2 separate regions of the Homo sapiens genome follow, and region 1 is linked to region 2. Evidence: promoter capture Hi-C in human tissues and cell types (Jung and others, 2019). All regions are on one chromosome and are shown on one strand. Each heading gives the region's core, a stretch centred on a gene start or on the middle of the fragment in contact. The rest is flanking DNA. Distances are from core to core; before and after follow the strand shown.

Region 1 (5,840 bases), core at 1,916-4,415, 47 kb after region 2:
TACATATCCTTACCTTAATGCTTTTGCTCTATTGAATCCTTTTGTTATTGATTTCTAACTTGATTCCACTGTGGTCAGGGAACATATTTTGTATAATTTCCATCTGATGAAGTATGCTTTATGGTCTGATATATAGTTAATTTTGGTAAAATTTCAAGTGTACTTGAATAGAATGTATATGTCACAATTACTGATTATAGGTGTTTGTTTGTTTGTTTGTTTGTTTTGAGAGTTTCGCTCTTGTCGCCCAGGCTGGAGTGCAATGACACGATAACGGCTCACTGCAACCTCCACCTCCTGGGTTCAAGTAATTCTCCTGCCTCAGCTGCCCAAGTAGGTGGGATTACAGGCATGTGCCACCACATCCGGCTAATTTTGTATTTTTAGTAGAGACGGGGTTTCACCATGTTGGCCAGGCTGGTCTCAAACTCCTGACCTCAGGTGATCCACCCGCCTCGGCCTCCCAAAGTGCTGGGATTACAGGCATGAGTCACCATGCCCAGATGAGTATAGCTTTTTTATCTATATCAATTATGTCAAATTTGTTAATCACGTTGTTCAAATCTTCAACAGGTCTACTGATTTTTGTTTATCAGTTATCAGACAAGGAGTGTGTTAAAAAGTCCCCATTCTCATTCAAGGAGCCTCTACTTTTACTTTCATTTCTATTAATTTTATTGTGTCATTTATAAGACTCTGAAAATGTTATAGCTTCTGGATGAATGAAAACTTTTATGATTAATAAATAATCTTTACCTCTAATGATGCTTCTTAACATTGACTTTGTTTATATTAATACGGGCATATCAACTTTCTCTTAGTTGATGTTTATATGCTGTACCTTTTCTATTCTTTTACATTGAACTTTTTTGTATTCTTATATTTAGGTAATGTCTCCGGTAAACAGCATGTTGTTGTTGTTTTTCTTTTCTTTTTTTTCCTTTTTTTTTTTTTTGAGATGGAGTCTCACTCTGTCACCCAGGCTGGATTGCAGTGACGTGATCTTGGCTCACTGCAACCTCCTCCTCCCGGGTTCAAGCGATTCTCCTGCCTCAGCCTCCTGAGTAGCTGGGATCACAGGAGCACACCACCCCACCCAGCTAATTTTTATATTTTTAGTAGAGACGGGGTTTCACCATGTTGCTCAGGCTGGTCTCAAACTCCTGACCTCATTATCCACCCCCCTCAGCCTCCCAAAGTGCTGGGATTATAGGCATGAGCCACCACGCCCAGCCTGTTGGAGATTTTTTAATCCAGACTTAGAACCTTTGGCTTTTTTTTTTTTTAAGACAGAGATGAAGTCCTACTCTGTCACCCAGGCTGGAGTGCAGTGGTGCAACCATAGCTCACTCAGCCTTGAACTCCTGGGCTCAAATGATCCTCCTGCCTCAACTTCCTGAGTAGCTGGGACTACAGGTGCATGCCACTGTGCCCAGCTAATTTTTTTTAATTTTTCATAGAGATAAGGTTTCACTATGTTGCCCAGGCTGGTCTCAAACTCCTGGCCTTAAGCAATCCTGCTCCCTCAGCCTTCCAAAATGCTGAGATTACAGGTGTGAGCCACCACTCCTGGCCAATTTTTGGCTTTTAACTGAGGCATTTATTCCATTTGCACTTAATTTAGTTATTGATATACACCATTTAAACATCTTATTACTTGCTTTCTGTTTTTCTCGCCTTAACTATCTCAATTTTTCTTGCCAGTTTTTGGATTTGTTTACTTTTTAATTTATTTTCCTTCTTCAATGCTTGTTAACTATACATTATCGGCCTATTATTTTAGTGGATACCTTAGATATTACAACAAACATCTTTTTTTTTTTTTTTTTGCTGTTGATGCCCAGGTTGGAGTGTGATGGTGCAATCTTGGCTCACTGCAACCTCCGCCTCCCAGGTTCAAGCGAATTTCCTGTCTCAGCCTCCTAAGTAGCTGGGATTACAGGCATGTGCCACTAGGTCCAGCTAATTTTGTATTTTTAGTAGAGACAGGGTTTCTCCATGTTGGTCAGGCTGGTCTTGAACTTGTGACCTCAGGTGATCCTCCCCCCCGGCCTCCCAAAGTGTTGGTATTACAGGCGTGAGCCACCATGCCCAGCCTCAAACATCTTTAACTTAGAAGAAAACATTGTATACTAGTGCTTTTACCTCATCTCAGACATGCTACTGCCTTAGGACCCTTTAACTCCATTTATCACCATTCCAAATTATGGACTATTGTTTGTGTGTGTGTGTGTGTGTGTGTGCACGCGCATATATATCTTTTTTTTTTGAGATGGAGTCTCACTCTGTCACTCATGCTGGAGTGCAGTGGCGCAATCTCGGCTCACTGCAACTTCCATCTCCCAGGTTCAAGCAGTTCTTCTGTCTCAGCCTCCCAAGTAGCTAGGACTACAGGCGCGTGCCACCACACCTGGCTAATTTTTGTATTTTTAGTAGAGATGGGGTTTCACCATATTGGCCGGGCTGGTCTCAAACTCCTGACCTCATGATCCGTCCACCTCAGCCTTCCAAAGTGCTGGGATTACAGGCGTGAGCCACTGTGCCTGGCTGTTTTTGTATATTTTAATTCTATGTAGAGAGACCTGCCCCGTAACCAATTTTGGGGCTCAGACAAAGAGTACAGATGGAGACCTACACACCATATATCTAGATAGTTTAAAGAATAAACCAAGCTAACAAACTATTGAATAAAATGGGTGCTATTTTCTACATTTACCAATAATCCTTCATGACAACTTGAAGGGCCAAATTCAAATTCTAAATTCTAATTTAGAGCTCTCTGTAGTTCTGTGCTAAAATGGTATGGCACAAGAGAGATAGCCTCTGGTACCTGATGCTCAGTCATCCTTCTCTTCCCACTTCCAGCTCTAACACTGTGAGGGCCTCATGCATGTGCGTATGGACAACCCAACTCTGCAGACACTGGCTACAAACAGCCTCCACGTGTCCACTCCTAGGTGCTAGGTGCTGGCAGTGTGGTTTGCCCTTGGAAGGAAGGAGCCAGGGAAAGGGCCCACACAAGCCGGGAAGAATAATCAGATCATTTTGAGTGGGAAATTCTGAGGTCTCAGATACCTAACTGTGCTCCAGATGGAGTGATAAAGGCTCCAGGTGGGCATGTTCCCTGGGCCCCCTGGATTCCTCATCCTGTAAGGTAGGGCATGGCTGAAATAAGGCCAGAGTTCAGGGCCCAGGGAAAAGTACCTCTTGCCAATGTCTAAGCTTAATGACTATATGTATAATATATATTTGCTAATATGTAATAATATTATATATCCCTACAAGCAACTATAGTGACTGTATGTATCTGAAAACGTATTTTCTAATATATAATAATAAGTATCCCCACAAGACATTATTTACAGTTTTATAAGGTTTTATATAGTTACTATTCATTTAGATTTACCTACATATTCTTTCTTTCTTTCTTTCTTTCTTTTTCTTTCTTTCTTTCTTCTCTTTGATGGAGTCTCGCTCTGTCACCCAGGCTGGAGTGCAGTGGTGAGATCTCAGCTCACTGCCACATCTGTCTCCTGGGTTCAAACAATTCTCCTGCTTCAGCCTCCCAAGTAGCTGGGATTACAGGCGCCCACCACCATGCCCGGCTAATTTTTTGTATTTTTAGTAGAGATGGGGTTTCGCCATGTTGGCCAGGCTGGTTTCGAACTCCTGACCTTAGGTGATCCGCCCACCTCAGCCTCCCAAAGTGCTAGGATTATAGGCGTGAGCCACCACACCCGGCCTTGTTCTTAATTTCTTTCTACATCTCTAAGCAAGTTTTTATCTGGCTTAATTTTCCCTCTGCCTGGAGGACAATCTTTAATATTTCCTTTAGAGTGGGTAGGCTGGCAATGAATTTTTCAATTTTTTGTTCATTCAAAAATGTTTGGGCCGGGTGTGGTGGCTCACACCTGTAATCCCAGCACTTTGGGTGGCCAAGGCAGGTGGATCACAAAGTCAGGAGATCAAGACCATCCTGGCTAACACAGTGAAAGTCCATCTCTACTAAAAAAGCAAAAAATTAGCCAGGCGTGGTGGCATGTGCCTGTAGTCCCAGCTACTCAGGAGGCTGAGGCAGGAGAATCGCTTGAACCCGGGAGGCAGAGGTTGTGCCACCATACTCCAGCCTGGCCAACAGAGTGAGACTCCCTCTCAAAAAAAAAAAAAAAAGTTTGTATATCACTTTCATGTGGGAAGGATATTTTCCTTGGATCCAGAATTCTAGGTTAGAAGTTATTTTCTGTCTGCTCTTTGAAGATGCCATGCCATTGCTTCCTTCCGCTTTGTTTCTTTGGACTGTTCAGCAATGTTACTGTTTTTTGGGTTGTGTTTTGTTTCGTTTTGTTTTGTTTGAGACAGAGTCTCAGTCTCTCAGTCTGTCGCCCAGGTTGGAGTGCAGTGGCAGGATCTCTGCTCACTGCAACATCCGCCTCCCGGGTTCAAGCGATTCTCCTACCTCAGCCCCCCCGAGTAGCTGGGATTACAGGCACCCGCTACCACGCCCAGCTAATTTTTGTATTTTTAGTAGTGACGGGATTTCACCATGCTGGCCAAGCTGGTCTCGAACTCCTGACCTCAAATGATCCACCTACCTCAGCCTCCCAAAGTGCTGGGATTACAGGCATGAGCCACCACGCCTGGCAGCAATGTTACTGTTTTAACTGTAAAAAGCAAATAGATACTTGATATTAGGATGATAATCAACCAATTTTTAAAAATAGAAGATTTGAGCAGAATTTTTACCAAAGATGAAGTGATATTATATCGCATATTAAGAGAATTTCATAAAATTTGGTTCACACAGCAGGCCTTGTAGTAAGGCATCCTAGGTTGAAATTTTGGCTCTTTGATCCTCACAAATCATTTAAGCTCTCTCTATCTCAATATCTTCATTTGTGAAATAAAGATAATAATTGTGAAGGTTGCTCTTAGGATTCAATAATTTAAGATGTGGAGTGCTTAGGAGAGTGCCTGGTACATGGTAAGCACTTTAAAAATGTAAGCTGGCTTTGCTGCTAGTGTGTATTATTATCTTTATTAGTAGTAGTAAAATTAATAGTAGTACGAGTAGTTGCATTGAGAAAGTTCCTCTTGGTTTTGGTTTCCATACTCCTTGAGGCCAAATTTCAGAAAGATAAGACTACCTTTGCCTTCTTCTGGGTTACTATTATCCCTGGATTATTTTAACCAATATTTTCCCCAGTTCCTTAAACAGTTATTTTTTTCTATTCTGTGTTGTATGGTTTAGCATGGTGCTTGGTTACAAGTATGAAAATGCATGGATGCCAGCACCTAAAATACACATTAGTTTATTGTGTCCAGCAAAATGTGCAGAGGTCAGCAGGGCTGTGCAGCGCGGTAGGCTCAGAATACCACCAGTCTCCCAGACTCCTGTCTTTCTCTCATCTCATTTTTTTATTTGTGGTTTCATTGGCATAGTTATAAGGTGGCTGCTATCCCCACAGACATTGCATCAGTGCGCCAGACAGGAAGAATGAAAAAGCATGAAAAGCCATCTTCTCGAAGTTCCCTGTTTTATTTTGGAAGGGAGGACCTTCTCATCAGCATTCTGGATACATATCATATCCAGAACCATGTAGTGTGACCACCCCCAGCTGTAAGGGACTCTGGAATTACGGGTGTGTGTTTGTTTGAGACAGAGTCTTGCTCCGTTGCCCAGGTGGAGTGCAGTGGCACCATCTTGGCTCACTGCAACCTCTGTGTCCTGGGTTCAAATGATTCTCCTGCCTCAGCCTCCCATGTAGCTAGGACTATAGGCACGTGCCACCACGCCTGGCTAATTTTTGTATTTTTAGTAGAGATGGGGTTTTGCCATGTTG
Region 2 (6,126 bases), core at 3,627-6,126:
TTGAGGGGAGAGGGTTTGGGACAGCAGCTGCTAAAGCCAATAAAAAAATGACTGTCTTTTTTGCCTAGGCTGCCTGTCACCAGGCGTCCTCCCTACCTGACACTGTTTCGTCCAGAGTCCTAGCTGCTGATTCTCCACACAGCCCTGGAGAGACCATCTCAGGTGTCTCTCATCTCCCTGGCTTTGCTAGCCTCTTTTTCCTCCTTGTTCCCCATGAGGGTCATCCATCCCCCAAGCAGGTTCCTCATGTCCTTAGGACGAGAGCATTATCACTACCTGGAGTGCTTTTCCCTCTGTCATCTGAGCTTTTATGTGAACCTCCTCCAAGAAGGTTCTCAGCTGTTCACTCAGGCACAGTAGTGAGCACTGACTCTCCACTAGCCCTGAGCTTTCACAGGTCATCAAAGACAGTCCCAACCTCAGAGAGCTTCAAGTCGGCAAATGAGACACCAGCGAAGAGCATCGATCACCATGGTAAGTGTTGTGAGCAGCTGGTGGTGATGGCATGCTCACTGCATGCCAGGAAGTGTTCTAATAAACATCATCTCAGCAATCGAGAATGCAGGTCTGACTACTGTCTTTTTCATAGATAAACCAAAACACAGCTTAAATAAAATAGCTAAGGTGGCCAAGTCAGAATCGTACCCTGTGTCTATGGCTCCAGATGCTGTGCTCCCAGCTGTTAGGCCATACTGCGTGTCCTGATAGAACCAACGGAGTGCGCTTCTAAAAAGGTAGCCTACAGGTTATGACCCCTGCGCCTAGTTGAAAGAGATTTGGGGAAGAGGGAAGACAGTGAACAGTACTAAAGAGGGTTGAAAAAACACAGAGGGCGTGTTCTCACTCATAGGTGGGAATTGAACAATGAGAACACTTGGACACAGGGCAGGGAACATCACACACCAGGGCCTGTCGTGGGGGAGGGATAGCATTAGGAGATATACCTAATGTAAATGACGAGTTAATGGGTGCAGCACACCAACACGGCACATGTATACATAAGTAACAAACCTGCACGTTGTGCACATGTACCCTAGAACTTAAAGTATAATAAAAAGTAATAATAAAAACACAGTGAAGCTAAGCACTCCGGAGAATGAGGCCCGGAGAGGAGCAGTAAGGCTGGAGGGCAAGGTAGATGCCTGGGGCGTTTGGGCTTTCTGCAAGTTCTGTAGGCCTTGGGGCCACTGAAAGTGTTTAGGGGCACTCATTAGAAAATTGCATTTGGAAGTGTTTCCATGGCCTGGACTAGGCTGGCTGATGAGGACAGGAAGAAGCTACTGCAAAGCCCGCTATAATAGGACCTGAGCAGGGACCCGTGAGAGAAAGGCTTAGGAGGCAGAAAGGATGGTACTCTATCCGTAGCCCAACCTCATCAGCCAGTGTTCTGTGACTCATTTCTATTTGTACAGGCAGTACTTGTACTGTTCATTGGTTTTGGTTCTTGTCTCTTGTACAATATTGAAAGGATCTTGGAGACAGGAACGCAATTGCTTCTTCAGTGTTCGTTTAGCATCGGGCAGGTCAGAATTATTTTTGCAAAATGGCTCCATCCTACGGCCATGTCACACCATGTCATGCAAGCCTTAGCCCTCACCAGGAAGGTTCTGTCTGTTGCACCACATTCATCCACATTCTACTCACAAACACTGGTCATTGTGTTAGGCGATTTGGTAGTGCCCCTGGGTGATGTGTAGGCCAGCAGATCTGTCGCTTAGCAGCAGACTTCAGGCTTTTCATGATCAGTTATAAGCCCACTCTTCCACATCAGGATGCTAAATTGAATGAATCAGGCCATGAGGACAGAGGCCTGCTGTGCTTCATTGTTGCAGGGCGCCTCCCAGCCCTCTGTCACCGGACCCACCAGAATGATTTTTTTTTTCTCAAACAGGAAAGGGTTGGGAACAATCCCTACAAGATCAGATGTCCCTAAGATTTCCAGTATTTCCTAGGTTTCACTCAGCAGGAAATACCTCAAAAAAAAAATGGCCTTTCTTGTCATGTTTTGATACCTGAGAAATCAGGAAATGGAAAAGCCTGTGCTAAGCTGAGCTGTAAGCAACATCAGTGTCTCATTTGAGCCTTAGAGCAGACGTGGCATGGGCCAGACACAGCATCGACCCAGAATAAACCCAAATACAGCTCACCTGAGCTCAGTGCAGGCTGGGAGGCTGGCCTGGAAAGGTGTAGGTTTGGGGTGAGATATGCCTGGATTTGAATCATGGTTCCTGTCATTTTGTAGCCATGTAACCTTCTGTAAAACAGTCTCAGAATTTGGGGGGATGTGATGAGCTAACTACACATAAATGGCATCCTGCTAAGGGTAGACGTTTCATACGTTGTAATTCTTGTCCCTTTTAGCCATTTTCTTGTGCAAAAAGGGATAATATGTTAATGGATTATCAATCAAAGCAAGAGCTTAGGGAAAGAGTTTCAACACATTTAGGGAGTTATTGTCCCATATTCAAATCTGGGGGAAATTTGCTGTATTTCCTTCAAATAAAAGACCACAGTAACTTCTTTGAAAAGAACCATAAATTTCAAATATAAACATTCGGAGAAATTTCATTCTCTTAGTAGCTGATTAACTATAGACAAACCTGCCTTAATTGAGGAGCTGTTTTGAAAGCTCATTCCCCAGTAGGAACTCAATCTCCTGGTCCCAGGTGGGTCTCATCAGACAAGAGATGGAGGAGAGAGGGAGGTGCACCCTAGCCTCAGCCTCTATTGAAATACAGAGCCATGTGGTGGTTACATCACTGTGGACTCCCATCCTCCCTTGCTGCTGTGCAGTGTTCAGGGAAGGCTTCATTTCACACCAACCTTTAGCGGGGCAAGGGCTCTGTACCAGCGGTACTCAGCTTAAAACTAGCCTACTTTGAGGGCCTTGATGGGTTACTGCTTTTACTTCCACTAGCTAGTGATTCCGAAACTTTTCATGATGAAGTGCCCATTTATTGGGCCAGGTGTGTTGGCTCAAGCCTGTAATCCCAGCACTTTGGGAGGCAAAAGTGGGCAGATCACCTGATCCCAGGAGTTCAAGACCAGCCTGGGCAACGTGGTAAAACGCCGTCTCTACAAAAAATACAAAAATTAGCTGGTCATGGTGGTACATGCCTGTAGTCCCCGTTGCTCAGGAGACCAAGGTGAGAGGATCACTTTAGCCCAGGAGGTAGAGGTTGCAGTGAGCCAAGATCGTACTACTGCACTCCAGCCTGGATGACAGAGCAAGACCCTGTCTCAAAAAAAAAAAGAATAAAAAATAAAGTACTCATTTTTTGTTCTCCATGGATTCTATGTCTTGAAGCAGTCCTCAAACTTTAAGGTGCAAATAAGTCACCTGGGGGTCTTGTTAAAAAGCAGATTCTTGGCCGGGCGCAGTAGGTAGCTCACGCCTGTAATCCAGCACTTTGGGAGGCTGAGGCGAGTGGATCACTTGAGGTCAGGAGTTCGAGACCAGCCTGGCCAACATGGTGAAACCCCATCTCTACTAAAAATACACAAAAATTAGCCAGACATAGTGGTGGGCGCCTCTAGTCCCAGCTACTCAGGAGGCTGAGGCAGGAGAATCACTTGAACCTGGGAGGTGGGGAGGTTGCAGTGACATGAGATGGCACCACTGCATTCCAGCCTGGGTGACAGAGCAAAACTGTCTCAAAAAAAAAAAAAAAGCAGATTCTGTAACAAAGGTCCAGGGCAGAGCCTGAGATTCTGCATTAGTAGCAAAGGCCCAAGTGAAGCCAGTGCTGTTGCTCTGCAGAACACCTTTGAATGGCAGGCTTTTGAAATATTTTCTCATTGGAAGAATCTTCTGTATTTATTAAATTCTGCTTAAAATTATTAACTTTCTTGTATATCCATGTTCATAACAGCATTATTCACAATAGCCAAAAGGTAGGAACAACCCAGGTGTCCATTGACAGGGGACAGGGGGTGAGAAATTTATTTCATGGACACAGATTCAGGTGGAAAAGATGAAAAAGCTCTGGAGATGGAAGGCAGTGCAGGTGGCACAACAATGTGAATGTACTGAATGCCACAGAACTGTGTACCTAAAACGGCTTAACACGGTAAGCTTCATGTTATGGATATGTTGCCACGGTGTTCACAAGTTATTAACTCAATCAGACTATTTAAATGCCCAGTAGATTGCATTCTGGGGAAATGGCTGTTTCAGGAAAATTTTCAGTGATTGCCACAGGGACCTCCCATGGGTGGGGAATGGAGTCTGGAGCACGGCTGCATGGCTCATGGAGAGAATTTGCACAGCCAGGTAGCCCCTGGTCCACTTCTACCCATATCTGGCCAGGTGCAAAGAGCATAGCTGTACCTTCTATTATCTCTCTCAATTTCTTATTTGCACTTTGCCCATGTCTATAGAAGGAAAAACTTGACTGATTAAAAATTACATTCACGGCACCTGTAGTCCCAGCTACTCAAGAGGCTGAGGCAGGAGAATGGCGTGAACCCGGGAGGCGGAGCTTGCAGTGAGCTGAGATCGTGCCACTGCACTCCAGCCTGGGCGACAGAGTGAGACTCCATCTCAAAAAAAAAAAAAAATTATACTCACGCCAGCCTGGGCAACATGGCGAAACCCCATCTCTAGAGAAAAATACATAAATTAGCCAGGCGTGGTGGCGTGCGCCCGGGGTCCCAGCCACAAGCTGAGGCAGAAAAAAAAGTAGCTACTCAGCTACTCAATGTTCACTCTTTAAAAATGCTTTTCCATCATCCTCCACCGTCTCCCACCCCCCACCAAGCAGCAAGATAATTCCCCATCGCTTAGCATCATATAGCTGCTTATGTGACCTTGAGAATGTCCACATGTCACAATGGACAGTCACTTAACACTAAGCAATGACACATGCTAGGAGTGGGGCTGGGCCTTGGGGCTGCTGGATGAATGAGACCCAGCCTCTGCCCTGGGAGTGCAGAGACTCAAGACAGATATGACCACGTGAAGAGACAACTGTAAAACAAGTGGTAAGTGCATCTACAGCCATAGCCACGGGGCACTGTGAGACCACAGAGCAGTGAAAACTAAGCCAGTCTAGGCTTGGCAAGGAGAGATGGAGTGAGGTGGGCAGTGGCTAAGGTGGGAAGACCAGAGCTGGGAGGTGAGATGGGATTTGGGTTTATCTTTACCAATAAGGATGAGGAGCCTGTTTCATCTTCCTCCAGGCAGGTCACAGAAGCTGGAACCAGTTGATCGGGCCGAGCCTGCAGACTCCCTCATCCTTTCCGGCCTTCAACACTGATAGCTCTGCTCTCTCTCCCCAACCTCAGTGCCTTCATCCTCCCCTGTGTTCCCATGGATGCTTGGTCCTGACTTTGCACCTCTCCCTCACACCCAGTGTCCTTTGTTTTTCCTCTGCCACTTGGGAGGCTGATGGGAGGATCACCTGAGCCTGGGAGGTTGAGGCTGCAGTGACCTGTGTTCACGCCACTGCACTCCAGCTGGGGTGACAGAATGAGAGCCTATCTCAAAGAAAAAAAAAAAACACTGCTCTGTATGATACTATCAAAGTGGATATATGTAATTGCACATTGTGAAATCTCATAGAATGCACAACACCAAGAATGGACCGTAATGTAAACTGTGAAGTATGGGCTTTAGTTAGTAACCATGCATTGATACCGGCTCATCAAGTATAACAAACGTACCACACAAACATAAGTAGTAAAAAAAAAAGGGGAAAGCTGTGTGTATGGTGCAGAGAAGGGGGGTTGTGGGAACATTGTACTTTCTAACCAATTCTAAAATTGCTCTAAAATTTAAGTATATTAATATTTTTAAAAAAAGTTTCGTTAAATTAGCAATATAATAGTTGCTTACCCAAGAAAATTCAGGTTTTCAAATATTGCGTTTTAAAAGCAATTATTTCCGGATGTGAGGGTGATCTGGCTGCAACATCTGTCACCCCACTGATGGCCAGGGTTAATTTGTCTGATCTGGCTGGCTAGGTGGATGTCTCCTTCCTCCCTCATCCGTCCACATGCGTCCTTCCAGACGCTGCGGACAACCTTCCCCAACAGAGGAGGGCCGTTCTTTGGGCAAGGGTATATGAGTAGCTGCACTCCCCTGCTAGAACCTCCAAACAAGCTCTCTAAAAGTAATTACTTCAA

Evidence for each region. Contacts are between HindIII fragments. The study calls those that stand out against the background at their distance.
Region 1: a fragment that was not itself captured here is called in contact with the fragment with the promoter of C9orf153 in region 2 in 1 of the 25 tissues and cell types used here (H1 embryonic stem cells).

The regions. Positions count from the first base shown.
Region 1 is chr9:86,210,224-86,216,063 of GRCh38, reverse strand. No RefSeq gene overlaps it. Among named protein-coding and RNA genes, the nearest start is that of C9orf153, 47 kb to the left of the region's middle. The HindIII fragment of the contact is 3,422 bases long and covers 1,455-4,876 here.
Region 2 is chr9:86,258,407-86,264,532 of GRCh38, reverse strand. It overlaps C9orf153 (chromosome 9 open reading frame 153), which reads left to right and starts at 4,876. Exons shown (of 4, transcript NM_001276366.4): 1 at 4,876-4,983. It also overlaps the pseudogene RN7SKP264. The HindIII fragment of the contact is 6,872 bases long and covers 1,307-6,126 here.